Regions from separate parts of the Homo sapiens genome. Here region 2 is linked to region 1. Evidence: promoter capture Hi-C in 16 types of primary human blood cells and fetal thymus (Javierre and others, 2016). All regions are on one chromosome and are shown on one strand. The core of a region is centred on a gene start or on the middle of the fragment in contact, and the rest is flanking DNA. Distances in the headings are between cores, read along the strand shown. Region 1 holds the start of TBC1D7 (TBC1 domain family member 7). Region 2 has its middle 120 kb from the start of TMEM170B.

What was found. Contacts are between HindIII fragments. The CHiCAGO score rates a contact against its expected background, and 5 or more counts as called.
Region 2: a contact is called between a fragment that was not itself captured here and the fragment with the promoter of TBC1D7 in region 1, in 1 of 17 cell types (total CD8 T cells). The highest score is 7.0, in total CD8 T cells.

The regions. Positions count from the first base shown.
Region 1 is chr6:13,325,081-13,330,677 of GRCh38, forward strand. It overlaps TBC1D7 (TBC1 domain family member 7), which reads right to left and starts at 3,457. Exons shown (of 8, transcript NM_016495.6): 1 at 3,216-3,457; 2 at 1,707-1,826; 3 at 14-94. The coding sequence starts at 1,818. It overlaps TBC1D7-LOC100130357 (TBC1D7-LOC100130357 readthrough), which reads right to left and starts at 3,457. Exons shown (of 9, transcript NM_001318809.2): 1 at 3,376-3,457; 2 at 1,707-1,826; 3 at 14-94. The coding sequence starts at 1,818. LOC124901261 (a long non-coding RNA gene) reads left to right here and starts at 3,535. Exons shown (of 2, transcript XR_007059457.1): 1 at 3,535-3,818; 2 at 4,645-4,777. RefSeq lists a silencer at 3,273-3,662 and an enhancer at 3,296-3,802. The HindIII fragment of the contact is 4,199 bases long and covers 123-4,321 here.
Region 2 is chr6:11,652,508-11,658,104 of GRCh38, forward strand. No RefSeq gene overlaps it. Among named protein-coding and RNA genes, the nearest start is that of TMEM170B, 120 kb to the left of the region's middle. RefSeq lists a silencer at 3,167-3,336. The HindIII fragment of the contact is 867 bases long and covers 2,639-3,505 here.

The DNA of each region.
Region 1 (5,597 bases), core at 2,207-4,706:
CTGGGTCTCATACCTAGAAGCACCTTCCATACCAATGCACGGTACATGGACGGGAGAGGGAACCTCTGACTAAAAGTACAAAGTTTCTCAGTATCTAGAGGAAGAAGAAAACAATTGTTAGAAGCTTTTCATGCTGATCACAGTATGTCAAGGCACATTTCATTTTTTAAAACTCAAAGAATAGTTAAGACATTTCTTCAGGGGAAGTCTACCATATGGTCAGTAAGTTTAGGAGAGGCAATACTAGTCTGATTTCTAGCCCAAGACTTCTGCCAACTAAGTTATTTAAAAACAATTTGCGGCCAGGCACGGTGGCTCATGCCTGTAATCCCAGAACTTTGGGAGGCTGAGGCAGGCAAATCACTAGAGGTCAGGAGTTTGGGACCAGCCTGGCCAACATGGCAAAACACCATCTCTACTAAAAATACAAAAATTGGCTGGGTATGGTGGCACACACCTGTGATCCCAGCTAGTCAAGAGGCTGAGACAGAAGGATCGCCTGAACCCAGGAGGCAGAGGTTGCAGTGAGCCAAGATCGTGCCACTGCACTGCAGCCTGGGCAAGAGTGAGACTCTGTGTTAAAAATAATAATAAAAATAAAAACAATTTGCATTTTACAGCATTGGAGATGCATTTTGCATATATTACTACATTCCCTATAACAGTGGTAGTTATTAATCACAGGGTTTATTTAATTCACACTGCAAGCCTGTTAGGTAGTTCTTGTTCTAAAAATGCAGAAACTGAAGTTCAAAGCAGTTAAATGACTTGATCAAACTAACATAGCTATTAAGTGGTACAGTCTGCCTTCAAATCCCTACATTTTCCAATAAATTACAGTGACTTCCCTGACCCTCAATTCCTCTACTTATCAAAGGAGAATACCAGACATACTAAAGCAAAGACCGCACAATTGAAGATCAAAGATAAGGTGAGAAATGTTTCAGAAACTTTAAAAGTACTCTATGCAAATAAAGTATTATCTTTAACTACGGTTCAGTTTATTTTACTTTAGTCAACAACAGACCTTATTCAGACTGGCTCAAACTAAAATGTCAATATACAATGCACTCTTAGTATTTCCATAAAAGAAAATCATGGGCTGGGCATGGTGACTCCTGCCTGTAATCCCAGCACTTTGGGAGGCCGAGGTGGGTGGATCACTTGAGGTCAGGAATTTGAGACCAGCCTGGCCAACATGGTGAAATCCTGTCTCTACTAAAAATACAAAAAATAGCCAGGCATGGTGGCACATGCCTGTAATTCCAGCTACCTGGGAGGCTGAGGCAGGAGAATCACTTGAACCCAGGAAGTGTAGGTTGCTGTGAGCCAAGATCACACCACTGCACTACAGCCTGGGCAACAGAGTCAGACTTGGTCTCAAAAAAAAAAAAAAAGAAAATCATGACCAGAGTTATCGCAAATTTACCCAGAAGCAAATTTACCTAGATAATACATGAAAACATATGGGTTCAATAAAAGAAAAAAATACTACTGACTTTCTTAAGAAACCTTTCAAAAACTTCTGACGCTCAGTGAAATATAAATTTGAAAAATCTTTTCTCAAAATACACCATTCTGCTTCACCACATCACTAAAAAATACAGCAAGTAACCAATGCTTCTGGATGTCTTTTAAGAAAATATTTACTTCAGAACATGTGGAGTGATTGAGAACCAATGAGATTAATTTTTAAAAGTACTCACCCAGACGGTCATCTTTTAGGAGAATTTCTAATGATTTCTTTTCTTCAACTCCACGAAACCCCACTTTCTCATAATATACTGAACGAAAGTTTCTCTGAGAGTCCTCAGTCATATTTCATTCTTGGAGGAGACACAGAAAGACAGAAAGGGAGAGAAAGACGAAGGGGAAAAGTGAGTCTAGAAACAAAGAGTCAAGAATTAGAATAATTTTCAATGATGTTCTCCACCTTTTCAATATGATGTACCCTTGCATAGGACCCAATATTAAATTTTTCCTTTAACTCAGTTCTGCAACTATCTCACCTATGCATCTTGGCTAAAAACCAAGATATAAGTTAAAAGTTCTCTGAGCTGATAAAATAGATGGCACAAGGTTTATGCACTAGGTTTCCCACTATACCTATGAGTGCCTAGCACAATAGAACATTCTGTAGCTATTATAAATGCGCAAAGAAAAAAAATAAGTGAAATGGAAGCCAGGCAAGATACGTCAAGCAAATTATACTCAAACAGTATACACTATGATTTCATTTTTTGTTTTTTACAAATTTCATGTATTTTAAAACTTAACACTCTATTCCAAAATGTTAGCAATGGTTATCTTTAGATAGTAGGATTCTAGATGATTTTAATTTCCTTTCTTTTGCTTAGCTACTTTTTTTTAAATGGGCATTTTGTAAAATGAAAAATTAAGTTATATAAAAGTAAAAAGCCACGAGTTCCTCACTTATCTTTCTTTTAAACACAATTCTATTAAGTGTAGCTATCGAAATTCAAAACCCACAACAAATAAATCGCATTAAATTATAACTAGAAGAGGGTAAAGAATGTAGCCAATTGACAGTGATCCCAAAGTCAGAGTTGAAGACGGAAAAACGATTTAAAATCTACCGCAAGAACTCAAAAAGTTCAGTGGTCTCAAGTTCCTTCACAGTAACCTTCATAATACTGGCGGTAATTCATCCAAAAAAAGACCAAGTTAGATTTGGCGTTTCAAGAACAGAAAAGATCTGATGCATTTCCCAAAAAGCACTGCACTGCCTCACCCAAATGCTTCCAGCGTCTGTGCACAAAAGAGTAAATCTTTAGGTTTAAAAACCCTGCGACGTCCCCAGTGAGCAGGGGAGGGCTTCCTTCCTTATTGAAAAGATATCCTCTGAACCGATTCAGTCACAGGAAAGATTAGGATTCGTTTAGAAAATGAAATGCTAAAGGGCTCTGAGCTTTCGGGAGCAGATGTCTTAAAAATAAAAAAGTCAGCAGCATAAAACGCGTAATGAGTGTGGGGATTTATTTTTTTAAAGCATCCAAACAGCTGCATGACGATTTGGTCGGTCCCTGTTGTCTAAGGACACCCATTCTTAGATTGCACTACAATGACAAAGGCGTCCTCTAGGAGGAAATGCTGCAAATAATATCTCCTGCCCATGCGCGTCCACCTGATGGGAAAAGTAAAAACACCCTGGTCCAAGACCCCAGGTCCCATTCTCTCTATGATGGATGCTTCACCTCTAGTAGTGCAAACACACCCGGGTTGAGACTAAGTGGTCCGGGAGAAGCAGAGGAAGCCGTGCCCTGTGCGCTGACCGACCGCCGGGCAGGCGGGCACCGTTGGGGCCCAGGGCCAGGAGGGACGAGTCCTGCGGGAAGGAGGGAGGCGGCGGGGTACCTGGGACACCCGCGCGCGCCCAGACGGCCCGGGAGACAAAACTCAGCGCCGCTGCCGCTGCCGCTGCCGCCGCCGCCGGACGTGACATCAACTCCAGGTCGCCGGGCGGGCGCCGGGCGGGCGCATGCGCAGAGGGCGCGGGCAGGAAGCTCCACCCTCACTCCAGGAAGCTCTGGCTTCGTTTGTGAAACCCGACGGGATGAAGGGCTAGGCTCGCCTCCAGAGTAGTGTAGTTTCTCCCGCCGTGGGCACCCGGCCCCTTGCTACCCCGCAAAATCTCGCGACCATTTACTCTGGCCATCCGAAGGCGCGTGCCTGGGTTGCACTCCCGTGTCCGGCCCTCGAGGTTCTTGCCTAGGGAAGACCCGAGCCCTAGGGCCGTACTTAAGCTGCCTGCGTGCAGGACCCGGGTTTTGCTTTTGCTAATTTCCTCCCCACCCCAGGTATGTGGGAATAGATGAAGACCATCCGAATGAGAAGAAAAAAGGCAGGCAGAGGAGTGCAAGTCTGATTTAGAGCAGGCAGGCTCCCTGGGTTGGTTATTGTAGGTAACTGACTGGTTTTCTGGGCAGGTTGCTGCAGGTTGTGGATTGGAGGTCTATTTTTATATTAGATTTGGCCATTGTCTTAGTATATTCAGCCTCTCAGGTAAAACACTATAACATAGGAGAAAAATGAACGTGTTTTTTTTTTAAAAAAAGATGTGCTAAATGCAAGCTCCTAATTTGTTATTAGTAGGTCTAACAGAACAGAGTTACTCTTTAAAGTAGCTACTAACACTTACAAATGCTTTCTATTTCTGTGCTTGCCTCCCTGGTCCTCGGGCTGGCTGAGCAGCAGTGCCCAAGTAGGTTTTTAAACCGCCAGGGTTTGAGAGAAATCCCCAATGATGGGTATCGTCCCTTTGAAAGTTCAAATCTCTACCAAATAAGCCACACGGATGCCAAGCTTTGAAGGAAACTTAGGACTATCAACAGTGCAGAAGTCCAGTTATAGTGCAGACAAATGTGTGTATAATGGCTAGACAGAACTTAAAAATGAAGAAACGTGTGGTGGTTGAACTCAAACACTGATGCCCCTCCCCACTCCCTTACCACCACCATCTTTAGTTCCTCAGTACTGGGGTACTAAACCTTCCTTGGGTAGTGTTCACATGAGTAAGCAGAGTTCTTCAAGTTACCTTACACAAGTTCCATTTACTTCATCTAAACCTTGGGCCGGTCACTAACTTTTATAATTGCCTTTTCTTGTCTTTAAAATCATCACCAGGGCTGGGCACTTACTGTGTGCAGGCGCTGTTCTATGGACTCAGGATACATCAGCTACCGAAGCAAAGATCCCTAACCTTGTGAAACTGACATTCTGGTGGGAGGACAGATCCAATAAAAACTAAAATAAATAAGTCAATGATGTAGTGTGTTAAAAAGTGATCGGTGCTGGCTGGGCGCCGTGGCTCATGCCTATGATCCCAACACTTTGGGAAGCCGAGGCAGGCGGATCACCTGAGGTCAGGAGTTCGAGACCAGCCTGGCCAACATGGTGAAACCCTGTCTCTAGTAAAAATACAAAATTAGCTGGGTGTGATGGCACACACCTGTAATCCCAGCTACTCTGGAGGCTGAGGCAGGAGAATCGCTTGAACCCGGAAGGCAGAGGTTGCAGTGAGCTGAGATGGTGCCGCCGCACTCCAGCCTGGGCAACGAGAGAAATTCCATTTCAAAAAATATTAATAATAAAATAAAATCATCACCAATGGTGATTATATAGAAGGTGGGAAGGGTTAAATGAGAAAGTATGTAAAGTGCTTGGCATGGTGCCTGGCATGTGGCACAGTAGGGATATATGTGAATTGGCTGTGTCAAGATCAATTAAAAATGCAAAGATGAGTCTCTAAATCATTTTATTTGGGAAAACAGAATTGCAGTTCAGGGCATACACACAGACTGGGGTGGTCTTCAGAACAACAAAGAGATGGTTGGAGGTTTCATTAGAGAAATGTTATGTATTACCTTGAAAGATAGCTCATTGACCCTAAGCAAAGTTTTTAGGAACAGGCAAGCTCTAATTTGTGAGAGAAGGTGGTAAGTAAAACTAGTCTTAGAGTTACAGCAATTCGTTTCAGCAGCTACTGGGTGAAACTGGTCTTCAGGTTATAGCAGGTCACCTTGGCAGCTGGCTTTCAATATAATTCCTGGGCAGGCACTTTGTGCCCCAACTGCTTT
Region 2 (5,597 bases), core at 1,822-4,321, 1.7 Mb before region 1:
GAGATTTCTTTTTTTTGTTTGTTTTTGAGACAGTTTCACTCTGGAAGTTGCCCAGGCTGGAGTGCAATGGCGCAATCTCAGCTCACCACAACCTCCACCTCCCAGGTTCAAGCGATTCTCCTGCCTCAGCCTCCCCAGTAGCTGGAATTACAGGCATGTGCCACCATGCCTGGCTAATTTTGTATTTTTAGTAGAGATGGGGTTTCTCCATGCTGGTCAGGCTGGTCTCAAACTCCCGACCTCAGGTGATCCGCCGGCCTCGGCCTCCCAAAGTGCTGGGATTATAGGCATGAGCCACCGCGCCCAGCCATTGGAGATTTCTAACCACATCATGCAGGAGGAGGATGGATGAGAAGCAGCATTGATCAGGCACTGGCTACCTATATCACCCACTGCTTCTATAAGTACTCGGCTCAGCCCTCATAGTGATGCTCTGATGCCCATCAAGCAGATGGGGAAACTGAGGCATTTATGCAGTTCAATGTCATACCCCTGGAAAACAGCAGCTATGGGATTCCAGCTTGGGTTTGTGTGAGTCATAACATGACTCTGTCTTCCACCGGTGCTGCCATATTTGGTCCACACGTGAATTGCTGTGATTACCAGCTTTTTTCTTTCCTGGAGACCTTTGGTGGCCTCTATTTATGCAGCTGAAGGAGACACTTACGACCTCATTCCTGACAGTTTTGGGAGCTGACAGCAGAACATTCAAAGAATGACATCAAGTGGCTTTCCTCAGGGTCATTTCCTGCTAGTGATCTCTGCAAAGATCACATTCTTTAAGGATGTGTGGGGGTCAGAAACAGACCCTATTCTGTCAGGCGAGAGATGCCTGGAGCAGCTGTAATGGGCAGACGTGTGTGTGTGTGTGTCTGTGTGTCTGTGTGTGTGTGTGTGTGTGTGTGTGTGTGTGTGTACATCCTCTGTGACATGCTTTGCTGGTGAATACAACCCCTCCTCCCCCGGCCACACTTCGCTAAAAACAAACCAGGTCTGCTGGGGTGCATGACTCATGCTTGAACCGGAGTCTTCACCCTGAGACAATAATTCTCATTTTAAAAGCAAATGCTGAAGTCAACAGCTGCTGGGGTGACTTTGCCTATCTTAATTTGGCTTGTTAGAGACAGCACCTCCTTAGCTGCTTGAAGGAGAACTTAAGTGGACCTTCCATGACTCTGTTCCTTTTCCTATCCAGGGCTCACATAAGAGTTGTCTGCAGCTGGAGACATGAAACAGTGATAGGATTTGGAGTCAGGGTGTCCTGATTTCATGTGTGTGTTCTGCCCTTTTATTACCACACGGTGGTGGGCAATTTACCCACCTGAGCATGAGGTGCCTCACCTGTGGAATGGATGGAACCCTGCTGTATTGGAGAATGTTCACCCATTCAAGATAACGCATGTGAAGCACCTGCCATACAGTAGATGCTCAATCACGTGGATGTTAGCATTGACTTTGTTGCATGTTCTCTGCTTAGCTATCATTTCTCTCTTCCTCCTTTATTTTGCATTAATTTATTTCTGTAAAGGAGGAAGCTGCTGGGCACAGTGGCTCACACCTGAAGTCACCACTTTGAGAGGCCAAGGCGGGAGGATCACCTGAGGTCAGGGGTTCAAGACCATCCTGGGGAAAATAGTGAGACTACCGTCTCTAAAGAAACATTTTAACAAATTAGCCAGGCATGGAGGTGTGCTCCTTGTAGTCCCAGCTACTCGGGAGGCTGAGGCAAAAGGCTCACTTGAGCCCAGGATTTCAAGTTACGATTGTGTCACTGCACTCCAACCTGGGTAACAGAACAAGACCCTCTCTCAAAAAAATTTTTAAAGGAGGAAGTCATCAGTTATGTATATCACACAGATTCACTGGTGACTTTGCCACCTTTTCCATCCCTTTGAAGTTCTGCATCGCCGGTGGGAGGACGTTGGTCAGAGCAAGCAGAGTGTGGAGGCAGAAGCAGAGAGCGGAGGACCTCAACTCTCTCTCTCCCTGGGCTCTGCTCTAACTTGATAAGGGCCCACGGGAACATCACCTAAACTCTTGGGGGCCTGTGTTCATTTGTCTGTAAAAAGAGGGGCTTAAATTAAATGATCATTGAACCCTCCAAGCTCTTGCTGGGCTGTTTCTGGGGGCTCTTCTCTCTGGAGTATTGATTTGAATTTTGGTGCTGAGCCAGCCAGTGCACGAAATACTACCACTTTGCTCAGTCTCGTAGATGTTTTTCTGTATTTCCTATGTTCAGCATAAAGGGGGCCAGCCCACTACTGCCTTTAACATGAATTGCCCTTCGGAGTATGGAGCACGAGGCGAGCAGCGCTTGTCTCCGCTAATAGACCTACACATTTCCAGGAGAATTTTTTTTTTCTCCTTGCTACTCACAACACATCACTTGTTTATGTGAGGGTTTTTACACACAGCTGATTTATAAGGGATTAGATTTCTCTAAAACATAATCTGCGTTGGTTCTATTGGCCAGTTAAAATTGGTATCCCAGCACAGCTTGTTAAGACATTACATATCATTCCTCTTGTTTTTCTCACACTCAGGAATGATAGGTTAAGAAATATGATTCTAGTTCATAAAAGCCTGAGAGGGACTAACTGGGCTCTATTTATGTTTTATCCAAGAATGTGGAATTTGAAGCTTTTCTCAAAGTGAAAGTTGACCCACTGGACCCGTGTGCTTGGGCCAAATATGAGTATGAGAAACATTCTCAAACCTTTTTGGAATCCTAGGCCAGTAGACACTGAAGGGGCCTAAAGGATTTCTGGGCAATTCCTTCTCCTTCTCTCATGCCACAATAATTATTTGCACTTCTTGCCCTTCTTTTAGCTCAAAAGTGAACTCTGCATGAAGCATATTACCTTAGAGAAAATGTTCACTTAAAGAAAGCCACCTGTTCAGGAAAACAAATTGTCCCCAAGAGGCGTGGTGGAACGCAGGTGGGGAATTTTGTCTTCAATAAGGAGAAATTTAAATTCTCTATATTCTTAGAAATTTACCAAATTGGTTGCACTAGGGTTTTTTTTTTTTTTTTTTTTTTTTTTTTTTTTTTTTTGAGACGGAGTCTCGCTTTGTCACCCAGGCTGGAGTGCAGTGGCGTGATCTTGGCTCACTGCAAGCTCCGCCTCCCGGGTTCATGCCACTCTGCCTCAGCCTCCCGAGTAGCACCAGGGTTTTTAATATCCAGTTCAACCGGGAGACATTTGTACTCTGCGAAGGCTGAGGCGTCCGTGTAAATTTGGCCACCAGGTGGCACCAAATGTTTTCATTAGAAAAATTGCTGAGGGAAAGCCTGGTCCGCATTCTCTCTCCTAGTTAAAAGGAAAAAAAAAGAAAAAGAAAACCCTTTAAAGTGAGTGTTGTCGGTTCATTCACCCAAATTCAGGAAGCATGTGCCTTTCTTATTTGCTAGCGCTTTGGCAGTACACTGTGGCAGTTCAGGGTGAGTTATTTCCTTGAAGTTTGTTAAAAGGGAAACATGGATGAAATTCAAGACTTGAAACAAAGCTTTATTGGAGCTTTGCAGGACAATTAAAATCCAGTCTCTCAGCCAACAAACGGTTCCATCAACCCCCTTCTAGGCCTAGCAGGACACAGGATGCCCAAACAAAAGGCAGAACAGGGAGGCATGGCTGGGTTTTTCCTTTTATCATTTGCTGCACAATCTTATTCTTTCAGATCCCAAACCAGCTTTTATGGTCTGGTTAAAATTTTGTTCTGTTTAGAAAAGAGGGTATCCTAAAGCAATCTAACTGAGCAGGGGTTGTTGCAGAGGGACACCCGCCTGCTTTCAGATGTGAGTGCTGCTGGGGATGATGTCTTTCTGCCCCTGCTCATGGTCTCCAGAAGAAAGTGCTGGCACGCTAAAGATAGGAAAAACATTGGCCAATTTATTGCTAAATTTCAATTCTTAAGAAGTGTTTTTTTTTTTGAAGTAAAAGAGGTGTGCATTCATTTATTTATTCATTCATCCATTCATTTGATGAATATTTATTGAGTGTTCACTGTGCCAGGCATCGTATTTAGAAGCCAGGGGAAGAGTGGTAACCAAAACTACGTTCCAGCTTTGGGCTGCTTCTAGTCTAGAGGAAGAAGCAGATACTCGTCAAGCCACTCGCATGAATGTGCATCAACAAGCTGCGGGAGGTGCTTTAAAGGCAAAGATTGCTGTCCCTGGATGTTGTGGAGCTAATGAAGTTGACCTAGATTCGTGGAGTGATGGGAATAGGCAGTGTTCCCTAACGAGGGACCCTGGAGCTGAGATTTGAAGGATGAGGAGGAAGTAATTAGGCAAAGGGATGGGAAGAGGTGAGGAAGATTTAGGCCAGGGAATTGCAAATTCAAAGGCCATGGGAGGAGAGGGAGAATGACAAGTTTGAGTTCAGCGTTTGAGATGCAAGTGTGGAGGGAACTCAGTAAGCGAAGCAGGAATGGATGCAGTTACAGGAGTAAAAGCTCACCATGAGTTCTCCACTTTCCTCTGTGTTTGGTATACTTTTCCTCTGCCAAATGGGAGAAGAAAGGTCAACACACACACACACACACACACACACACACACTCCAAAACTCTATCAATTACCAGATCTCTACTAGTCGCCTGCTTTGATAGGTGGTCTGTGGTATGGTTGGCTTGGAGCCAGTGTCCAAATATTTGAGAAAAGTTTGGGCATTTTTCCCCCAGTACAGTAACCTGTTTAAATGGACACAAGTACCACTGGGGAAGGCTGAGAGGAAAAGTCACAGAACATACTTGGCAATTTTAGCAGAAAGTGCTGCCTTAAGCATCCCTATTTTCCCTTTAGTGAGGGGATGTGGGTCTGGGAACTGACTCGGTCTTAGACACGACCCCAAGTTTCTGATGTAATAGCAGCCCCCATTCACCAGACCTGGAGTTTTTTCAGTTACACGCCAAGTTAGGCCGGAAATCCTGCGATCAACTGGCCACACCCTAAGATCCCTGCAGTTCAGTTCATTCTGGTAAGCCCTAATGTCTTGTAAGATGACTATACCCATTTCTATCTTACTATTCTAGTGTACCTATTTGTCCTTTTCCACCCGGGCCCTTCCCACATGCTTGGTATCAAGCAGTCCTTTTGGATGGTAGCATCTTCCACCACTATTCCCAACTCACAGAGAAGAGCCTCTACACTCTTTTCAAAGATGCCGGTGTTTGCCTTACCAGTGTCTATCCCAGGCTTTGATGACGGGATTGCCTATAAGGCTACAGCCACATTCCTCTCTTGACACCTATGAGTTCTTTTGTTATATTGAACCTTACAGTTTCTAGCTTCTCAACTTTCCCTAGACTGTACTTCCAATGGAGCCCTGGACTTCTTGGGCCAGCAAGTAAACTATCAGAACCACTCTCAGCTGCCCCAGCTAACACCACTAGATCCAGAATCGTGGGTGAGTGCACAGTGCACCCACGTTTACCCTGATCAAAGTGATGTTCCTTCCTCTTGACCAATAGCCTTCAGGATGCCTTTCCTCACATATTCCCACATCTTTGCCAATATAATTAAGTCCTGTAAGTCTTTTGGTGGTTGAATTCCCTTCTCCCCTAGTAAGTGCTGGGGTCTGACTTTAGTTACAAGTCT